Regions from separate parts of the Homo sapiens genome. Here region 1 is linked to region 2. The links are contacts of gene promoters, found by promoter capture Hi-C in human tissues and cell types (Jung and others, 2019). All regions are on one chromosome and are shown on one strand. The core of a region is centred on a gene start or on the middle of the fragment in contact, and the rest is flanking DNA. Distances in the headings are between cores, read along the strand shown. Region 1 overlaps SLC24A3 (solute carrier family 24 member 3). Region 2 holds the start of SLC24A3 (solute carrier family 24 member 3).

Region 1 (4,371 bases), core at 1,706-4,205, 160 kb after region 2:
TAAATCTGTCCACAGTGGCTACTTTGAAATTCCAGAGTATCCCTGATCTAAGCATATTAATTGTTTTTTTGATGATTCACTACTTTCTGCTCACACATCATTTCCTTCATAGCATTTCGCATCATGTGGAACATAAATGTTTGTCTGTTGTTTGATAAGTGATGTCATTGACTGTATAATACATTTCATCTTATTTGAGACCTGACAGACTGGAATGACATTCGTGTTTTCAGGGAGAAGCAGATGACCCAGGTCAGAACTTTCAGGCACCCACAGCCTCTATGGGAACATTTCCCACCCTAAGAAATGTTCCTGCCATCTAATGCATGAAAGTGGCAAGCCTCATGGTCCTATGGCTTGAAGCCAGACAGTCCGTGGATTGGAGTATCCATTTAATGGACACCAGCTGGCTCCCTGCCTTGTTTTGAAAAGGTTGGAGAATGTATTTCTTGCTTTTTAAATCATGCTCCTGTGCCAGGAAGCTTCTAAACACTGTAATCCCTCTGCCTCCAAATCAGGTAGAGTAAAAATTTCCTGCCAACCTATCCCAGCAGGAGAAATAGGAGGTTTGAGCACATTGTCAGGTCTTTCAACTGAGGACTAGAGTTCAGGCCAAGGAAACAGGTTGAAGACTTCATCATGGGAGTTCTCACAGTATTGTGGCTCTGGTTGCTCAAGGAAAGAAACACAACTCTCTGGTTAGACCGGCTCTGGGCTGTCAGCAGCCTGGTGGGTCCCGGTGGTGGTTCTCATCCTTTAGTGTAATATTTTGATCCTCATTGGAAGATGATGAAATGGAGGATCAGAGATTTTAACTCACTAGAACCTGAGCTTTCTTTTCTCTTTTCCAGGGCTCTTGCCTGTCTTGGTGTGGGTCTTCCCAGAAGCAGCTCCTGAGCAAGGATTTGGGTGCAGTGCATCCCTCTGGGAGGTGAATGAGGACAGGAGCTCTGGGGGCAACTGGGCTGAAGTTTGTCCTCCATGGGATTCTGGAAAGCAGTGTAGAACAGGCACCTCAGCATTTCCTCCCCAATAGGGGAGGGAGCAGGGTACATATAGGCCAACTGGGAGGTAGGGGAGGATGCTAATTCCAGGCACTTCTGTCCATCACTCATTTCAGCAAAGAGATACTAATGTCTGTGTGTGAGAGTGGAGAGGGCAGGCCCTGGGAGGGTAAAGGCCCAGGAGGTCTGGGGATCACCGAGCAGTCTGCTCTGCCACTGTTTAGGTGTAGGCCCTGTGGTGTGGAACAGCTGGGAGCACTGAGAAGGAAATGAGCAAAGCATTATGGACAAGACCCCAAGCCTGGCCTTGGACTAGGATCACACTGCCTGGGAACCAGTGGCTGGGAATACGCAGTTAGTTTTCTAGCTAGTTCCTGAAAAAGGGATTTGGGTCCCCCAGGTTCCTACCATTGGTAATAAACCCCACCACCCCCTACATACAGGGACAAAATCCCCACACTCTCCATATGGCGGAAAGCTTTTGGCTGTCCATGTTTTTTAGTGGTATATTTCCCTACCTTTTTTGGGGTGGGACCCCAGACCCAGTTCTAATCTCATATCTGGACCACCTGGCCATGTGAAGCTGAGGAAAGTCCTTAGACTCCCTGTATTCTGCAGCGTACAGGTCTATTCAAACCTACCCCAGAGTCTGAGGAAGCTGATAAGCTATGTAAAAAGGCTGGCATACGGATATGGATCCATATCTCAGGTGGGTATGCCAGCCTTTTCTTCAGCCCATCAGCTTCCTCAGACTTCTCTGTGGAAGTCATGTCTGTGTCTCAGGCAGCAGTGAGGCAAGATGGTAAATCCCTATGCCATCATCCCCAGACCAGACCCAGGGCTTCTATATCATAGAGAAAAAGTATACATGCCTTGGAAGGGATGTGTAGGACAATTGCTTAAGGGCAGGATTTATGGTAAGGACATGCTCTTACACAAGGAACAGTAAATAAACTGGAAACCTTAGAACTGTGGTTGCTTAGAAGTCAACATGGTGGATTTTCATCCAAGATGGAGTTGCTTTAGCTTCCATACCTTTGGTCCAGAATTCCTCATGTGCTATATCTGTATTTGTTTGGAATCTTCTAACTCAGGGAAAGAAGCAGAAGTTGAGGGAAGGCAGGAATGAATATAAAGAGACCATAAAGGAATCATTTCAAGACAAGTGAAGCCTCATGAGGTACACAAGAAAGACAGGAACATCCACAGCTCACTGATGCTCTCACTTAGCATCTGGCTCAGCCACACCCACTTTCTGAGGGTAAGGGATGCTCTTGCAGGACAAAGAGCAAATTGAAAAACAGGAGAAAATGGTTCATGCGGGAATAAAGGCTGTGACCTTGACCTTATTAGCACTATCTGGGAGCAGGCTCAGTGTGTCGTTCAATTGCTTCCTATGAAAATGGTGAAACAGAAAAAGGAACAAATCAACAAACAGACTAACCAAACCTTGGAGAAGCTTCCTATGTGTTTACTAAGAATCAAATCCTGCTGGAGTGAGAAAACTGGGATTCCTTTGGCCAAGCCCTGCTGGTCACCTTAGTTATGAAGAGTGATGGAGCGGGAGGAAAGGGTCCCCAGGGAAAAACAGAAAACACAGGAAAATGCCCGGCTTTCCCTCCCCGAGCTCAGCACCACTGAGCAAAGGACACCGGTACAACCAGCACATTTCATCCTTCTCTGTGGCGGCCAGAATTACAGATTTAATCAGGTGGCATCAGAAGGCAAATATATGGACCTGTCTAATGGAAAGTTCTTCTGATCCACAGTTTCCTGTGGTGGCCCCAGGGCTGGATGGGACCAAAAGTGAAATGAATTGCACAGAAAGACTCATGCCTAACTTAGTTACCAAAAGAGAAATAAAGAAAGAAAGAAATTCTTTAGTTTTGCGATTTTTTTTTTTGGCCCATTTTTATTAAGGAGAGATCCTGGCAATGTCCTCTGTCCAGGGGCTTGCAGGTGGGATCCTGTGCCTGTCTCACTTTGTCTATTCACACCGAAGCTTTTAGGTCTGGTTTTTGTTTGTTGCTGGTGTTTAGTTCCTGAGAGATGATCCGATTTCTGCAACCTAAATTTTCCTTCAGCAGACCCCAGGGGAAATCAAGGCCTCTCTCGGAGGCCCTTCCTTGTCCTGCCCAGGTCCAGCCCCATGGTCACCTCCTCTGCAAAGGCAGAGCCTTGGAATGGTCTGACGTCAGGGTGGGAAGTTCTTATGGTCAGGGAGACCTGGTGGAACATTCGAGAACCCTTTTCTCTACCTTTTGGAGGTCAGAGCTGCCCACATGCTGCCTGAGCACTCAGCAGGCAGATCCTTGCCATCTCCATGCCTTTTTCAAGGATGTTTTTGTCTGGGATGATTCCTAACTCTTGAGGGACACTGAGCCCATGGAGGATCTAATTATAGTGGCTATAGATTTTGCCACTATATATATAGATTTATATATTCTGACTTAGATTTTGCACATATTTTGAGGACAGTCTAGCCCACCCTATAGATTCTTAGTTCCTGGATCCTAAGTTACGGAGATTTTGTCCAGACTGATGTAGGTGAGGGGAGAAATTTAGTGGAGGAGGAGCTTCAGCTGCTGCTATCCATCATTTTCCTGGAGTGGGTGGGCTTCTGAATTTGGAGGCATCTACTAAGAGCATGACATGTTTTTAAGCCAAAACGAAATGAAGCTGAGATCAGCGGTGGGAGCAGGGTGGGCAGGGAGGAGTGTGTGTCTATCTACGAACCCTAGATCCCTGGTAGGTTAATCACAGCTTCTTTCAGGTTTTCCTTGAATGGGTTGAATAACTGGATGAAGGATTCCTTATCCAAGTAGTTGTCACTTGGCCACTAATGTCCATTTTTCACAGCATCATTTTGTAACGTAGCATAGGTACTTGAATGCCAAATGCCTTTGCTTGAGATCCGGTAAAGAAAGAGCCTCAGATCGGGGAAGCATAGAGGAATGGTTTATCCTGTGGTCTAAGGGCAAAGCAAGGAATTTCCATCATGTTTCAAAAATGGGAAAGTTTCCCAGTTCCTCTGCTTACCTGACCCTTAGATATAACTCAAATATCACCACCATCTCAGTGACAGGGTGGGCCGTCACTCCTCCACATGCTCAAGTTGCCATTTCTTTCTGGTCTTGCATGAGTAACCATAACCCTGTTAAAATGACAAATGTTTTCCCTGAGCTGGGACACCGGTGAAGCAGGCTGGATTTGTGCCCCTGAAAATTAGGCAGCCTGCCCGCTAAGTGCTCAGATGAGCAGAATACTGACTGTTGAATGAGCCTCCCCTTTGCTGCTCAATTATAAGACATGGGGAGACTAAGCCTGCACACCTTTTCTATCTCTCCTGGAGTTCTGGGCACTGGTG
Region 2 (4,439 bases), core at 159-2,658:
CCTCCTTAGGGTATGAAGCTAGATTCCCTGATCTGAATGGATTCCATGGAGACAGTCACCTAGACAGACACCTGGTTTCAGGTGATCCCTTTCTGGACAAGGTCTTTTGTTTTCAGCGCCCCCCCACCCTCCGCCCCAACAATGGCATCTCCTCCTCAGCCCAGCCAGCAGCCCCAGGCTAGCATCTGGGAAGAGTCCAGGGAAGCCCAATGAGGGAGAGTGGGCTGTGTCTGGGATGGCCAGGGATCCCCTCCAAATGGGCACCTGCGGCAGGTCGTGAGTCCAGCCATCTCTAGGGCAGCCCACACCTTCAGCAAGGAGGGGCAGGAGACCTAGAATGGGGGAAATGGGAGGACTAAGATTCTAACGTTGGAGGTAGGGCAGGCTGGTGTTACCTGCACAAGGCCAGAAGCCTCTTCAGGCCGCCTCTCCAGGGACCGTGCCAGCTGTCCCCACTTCGATCAGCCACAGTATTGGACTTGGTCCAGCACGAACAGAAAGCGAAGTGTGAGCCCAAGACAGAGGGGGGAGCCGGACACCCTTATGGAACTAACAGCCTCTGGGGAGGCCTGTTCCAGATCCCGAGTCGGGCGCACAGGGGGATCCCCGCAAGGGGGCAGAGGGAAACCCGGGAGGCCCGCGAGAAGAGGCGAGGCCAGAGGCTGGGCGCGGGCAGCCAAGCGCACTCGCGGCGCCCCGACTCCAGGTAGCACGTAGAGAGGAGGCTGAAGAGCCCCTCGGTTTTCCGAAAGTTTCCAGCGAATCCTTCTTGGTGAAGATCGGCCTCTGGGAGGCAGCGTGTGTGCTTCCCGAGAGGGGGCCCCCTGCGCCGTCCCTCTTCCCCTGGCACAGAAGGGTTGAAGGACTGCACACAGGGATCCCTCCCCAGCCCAGTCTCCTCCCAGCGCGCCCCCTCCCCGCCATGCCGGCCAGCGCCGGGCTGTGTCCCAGGCACTGCCCCCCGCCAACCCTGGCCCGACCAGCCTCGCCGCTGCAGGCTGCCGGGAGCTGCGCTAGCTCATGCTCCCAGCTCGCTCGGTGCTCCCTGTTCGCTCCGGCCCGGCCCCGGCCCCCATCGCGCCGACCATGGAATAGGCGGGCGGCCCCGCGAGGCGCTCCTGCAGCCGGCGAGGCCAGAGCCAGTCCGGGGTGGCTTTGCCAACCGGCGGAGTTGGCCAGCGGCGGGCCCTCCTACCGTCGGTCCTTCCCCGCTCCTCCTCCTCTGCCCCCTCCGCCCCCGCCTCCCGGCCGCCCCCGCCGCCCCCGCCGCGCCGCCGCCCCAGGCCGAGCGCGGGCGCGGAGCGTGGGAGCCATGGCGCGCGAGGAGGAGCGGGACCCCGAGCGCCGGGAGGCGGCGGCGCGGGCGAGCGGCGAGGAGGAGGAGGAGGGAGGGGAGGAGGGACTGGGCGATAGCGACGAGGAGGGCGACGACGAGGAGACGGGCAGCGGCGAGGAGGAGGAAGAGGAGGCGGAGGCGGCGGCCGGGTGGGAGCGCAGCGAGGACGCGCGGCTGCTGCGCGCAGGGCTGCCTCCTGCCGCTGTCCCCGCCGCGGCCGCCCGCGACAGGAGCGGCCGCCGCCCGCCGAGGCCGCCGCCCGGCCGCCCGAGGATGCGGCCGTCCGGCGACGAGGACCGCGCGCGTCGCCGCCGCCGCCGCCGCCGCCGGAGGGACCTTCTGCTGAGCCAGCTCTGCTTCCTGGCCTCGGTGGCGCTGCTGCTCTGGTCGCTGTCGAGCCTGCGAGAGCAGAAGGGTGAGTGCACGCTGCCTGCCCCGAGTGGGCGCTGCGGCTCCGGCGGCTCGGGGCTCCCGGGGCTGGGCGCGGGGCTCCTTCGGGCGGCCCGGCCGGAGCCCCAGGATAAGCGGGCTGGGTTGGCGGGGGGAGTGGGATGCCAGGCACGAGGACTCCCCCTGCCCCACGCAGAGGCATGGAGGTGGGGACCCTGAGCGCCAGCAGCCAGCAGGCTTAGGCGTCTGGCCGCCCTGGGAACATTTACCTGTGCCCGCCTGTGCGCTGCTTACTCGCGAGCTGGAGGTACTGCTGGTGGCGGTGGTGGGGAGTCTTACTCTCCATCAGCCCCCAAGGCCAGGGATAAAGTTGTGGTGGTAGACCCGGCACCTGTGCAGGTGACCACCTGTATACTCCTTGGCTTGCTGAAGGATTCAAGGGGACTGCTTAACACACAGTTGTCCGTATGTTCTCCATCCAGAGAGCAGGCGGGATGGCCCGAGTAGAGAGCTCTTCAACCCCCTTTCAGAACAGGTGCCGGGAACTTCAGGGAGAGAAAAAGTGTTGGCCCTCCAGCTATGGGCTAGTAGGGGACTTGTTCTCCTAAAATGACCACTCACTGGGAAGACAGGGAATTCTTCCTCAGAGGTCCCTTTTGCAGAGCTGCTGCTGTGGAAGAAATGGTTTGCAGTGGACCACGCATCACACTGTCCGCTCCTCTACCGGTGCTCTGCGCAAAGTCTGCCCTTTAACCCACAACTTTTGTCTTGTCTTTGTCCTTGGCCTTTCTTGAGCTGAAATAGATCTTGTGTGCTCCCAACAGTTGTCTGCTGAAACAGCTTCGATCCTGGGATTCAGCTGTCTATAAAATGAAGGAAAAACATGGGAGAATAACTGTTGTAAAATGGTTTTATATCCCGGCCGTGGAAGTGGCACGATTAGTGGGAAAACAGCCATGTAAAGGGTTGTGAGAAAGAAACAAAACAAAACAAAACAAACAAACAAAAAAACAGTTACAAGTATGTGCTGTGGTGTTGAGGTCGACGTAGCTCTAATGCAAGATGTCATGAGGTGCAGAATAAAGACATTTTGATAGTCACCGTAAAATATTTTCAAAGGTGCCATGAATTTAAAAAGGGATCTCCCCCAGCTTGGCTGGTCTCCTGCTTGGTGGGGAAGTGAAACAGGCGTCAGTCTTCATTCAGTCTTAGCAGACCGCTTGACAGACTTCATCATTTATGGTAATAGCAGAGAGTCCGTCTTGGTCTTCAGTGAAGCTGTTCAAGACTCCACGGCTCTCTCCATTGCTCTCCTGGATCTCAGATCCCGTAGCCTTGGGTTCTGACATCAGGAAGGGGGCCGTGCCGGTGTGAGGGAAGCAGAATCTCTCCCAGGGCAGATTCACATCTGCCAGACTTCTGTCTACTGACAGTCTCACTAAGGGGGTTTTCCCGAATCCCATTTTTATTTTCCTTTTTTATTTTTCTCCAGTGAAAAACCAGTTTATAGTTCATGCCACCTTTGGAAAGGGCTATTCCTAGTGGATTACACGCTGGCCATTTTTTTCTGGTATGTTGGGGCTCTATGAGACATAGAGTTCCCACCACTTTCAAGAATATAAAAGACATTTTTTTCTGGGTGAAGGATGTGACTCATATAGTTAAGTCAATCAGTGACAGGGGGCTGCCTGGGCCCTGAAAAGCTGGGATTTGGGAGGAGAGGAGGCCAGACACTCTGCAAACTTGAAACCTGGGGACTGGAATGTCATTTTGGAATGGTTTCCCTGGTAGTGACATTTCTATTCAGGTGCCACTGACTCAGATTTAGTTCCATAGCACGGCCTTTTCCGCATCCCTCCCTCTGTCCTACCTTTCTCCTTCCTACCTTTCATATTCTTTTTTCCTCTCACTTCCTCTTCCTCCCTTCTCATCTCTGTTGGTCTTAGGACCCCTCCACACCCCAGTAACTGAAGATCTAACAGGCAAAAGCCAAATGTTAAGGAGGATGCCAGCCAGCCTCCCTGTGTTGCCCCCGAATGACATATGAGTTGAAATGGTCTCCAATCACTTTTTTTTCCGTTAGGTATTGATGATTTTGGTATGTGATGCACAGTAGTATTTTGCAGCAAGACACAGGTTTTTCTAGATAATTTTTAACATATTAATTAATGTGTGTGAATCTGCAAATGATAATTTTGCAAGGGGAATTGTCGTTTGGCACACGTAAGCATTTGAATGGTGACTTTTACCCTGGAAACTTGGAGCACACACTACCTAGTGGTCCTTTGGTACAGATACTGAAGTTTGGAATGGAGCATTGTTTCGAAGACCTTGTGGTGTAGAGAGGCTGAGTGATTAGCTTAAAGTCACACAGCATTCGAAGAGTAGAGGAAAAAACCAACCTGAGGTAACCTGGTTTTTTGTTCCCTACTCTGTCCTCATATTCAAACCACCATTTGGGTGTAGCTTTGTAATATTTATATAATCTCATAGGGGGTACCTTCATAATGATCAAAGGTAATATTTTCATTTAGTCACCTTGAAAGCCATGCAGTGATTGTTAAATGTAACTTCTCAGAAGCTCGTTTTCTAACACATATTGACCTTTCCCTCCCTCCTTCCTTCTGTTGGCCCTTCCTCCCTCTCTCCTTCCTTCATTCTTTCTTCCTTCCTGCTCCCTTCCTTTCTCTCTTCTTTCCTCTTAAAATGACAG

The links. The method cuts DNA at HindIII sites, captures the fragments that hold promoters and counts their contacts. A contact is called where the count stands out against the background at its distance.
Region 1: a contact is called between a fragment that was not itself captured here and the fragment with the promoter of SLC24A3 in region 2, in 2 of the 25 tissues and cell types used here (H1 embryonic stem cells and dorsolateral prefrontal cortex).

The regions. Positions count from the first base shown.
Region 1 is chr20:19,370,166-19,374,536 of GRCh38, forward strand. The region is part of intron 2 of SLC24A3 (solute carrier family 24 member 3); the gene reads left to right. Among named protein-coding and RNA genes, the nearest start is that of SLC24A3-AS1, 88 kb to the left of the region's middle. The HindIII fragment of the contact is 3,946 bases long and covers 983-4,371 here.
Region 2 is chr20:19,211,234-19,215,672 of GRCh38, forward strand. It overlaps SLC24A3 (solute carrier family 24 member 3), which reads left to right and starts at 1,409. Exons shown (of 17, transcript NM_020689.4): 1 at 1,409-1,751. The coding sequence starts at 1,610. LOC101929547 (a long non-coding RNA gene) reads right to left here and starts at 1,235. Exons shown (of 3, transcript XR_007067549.1): 1 at 396-1,235. RefSeq lists a silencer at 1,760-1,809. The HindIII fragment of the contact is 12,474 bases long and covers 1-4,439 here.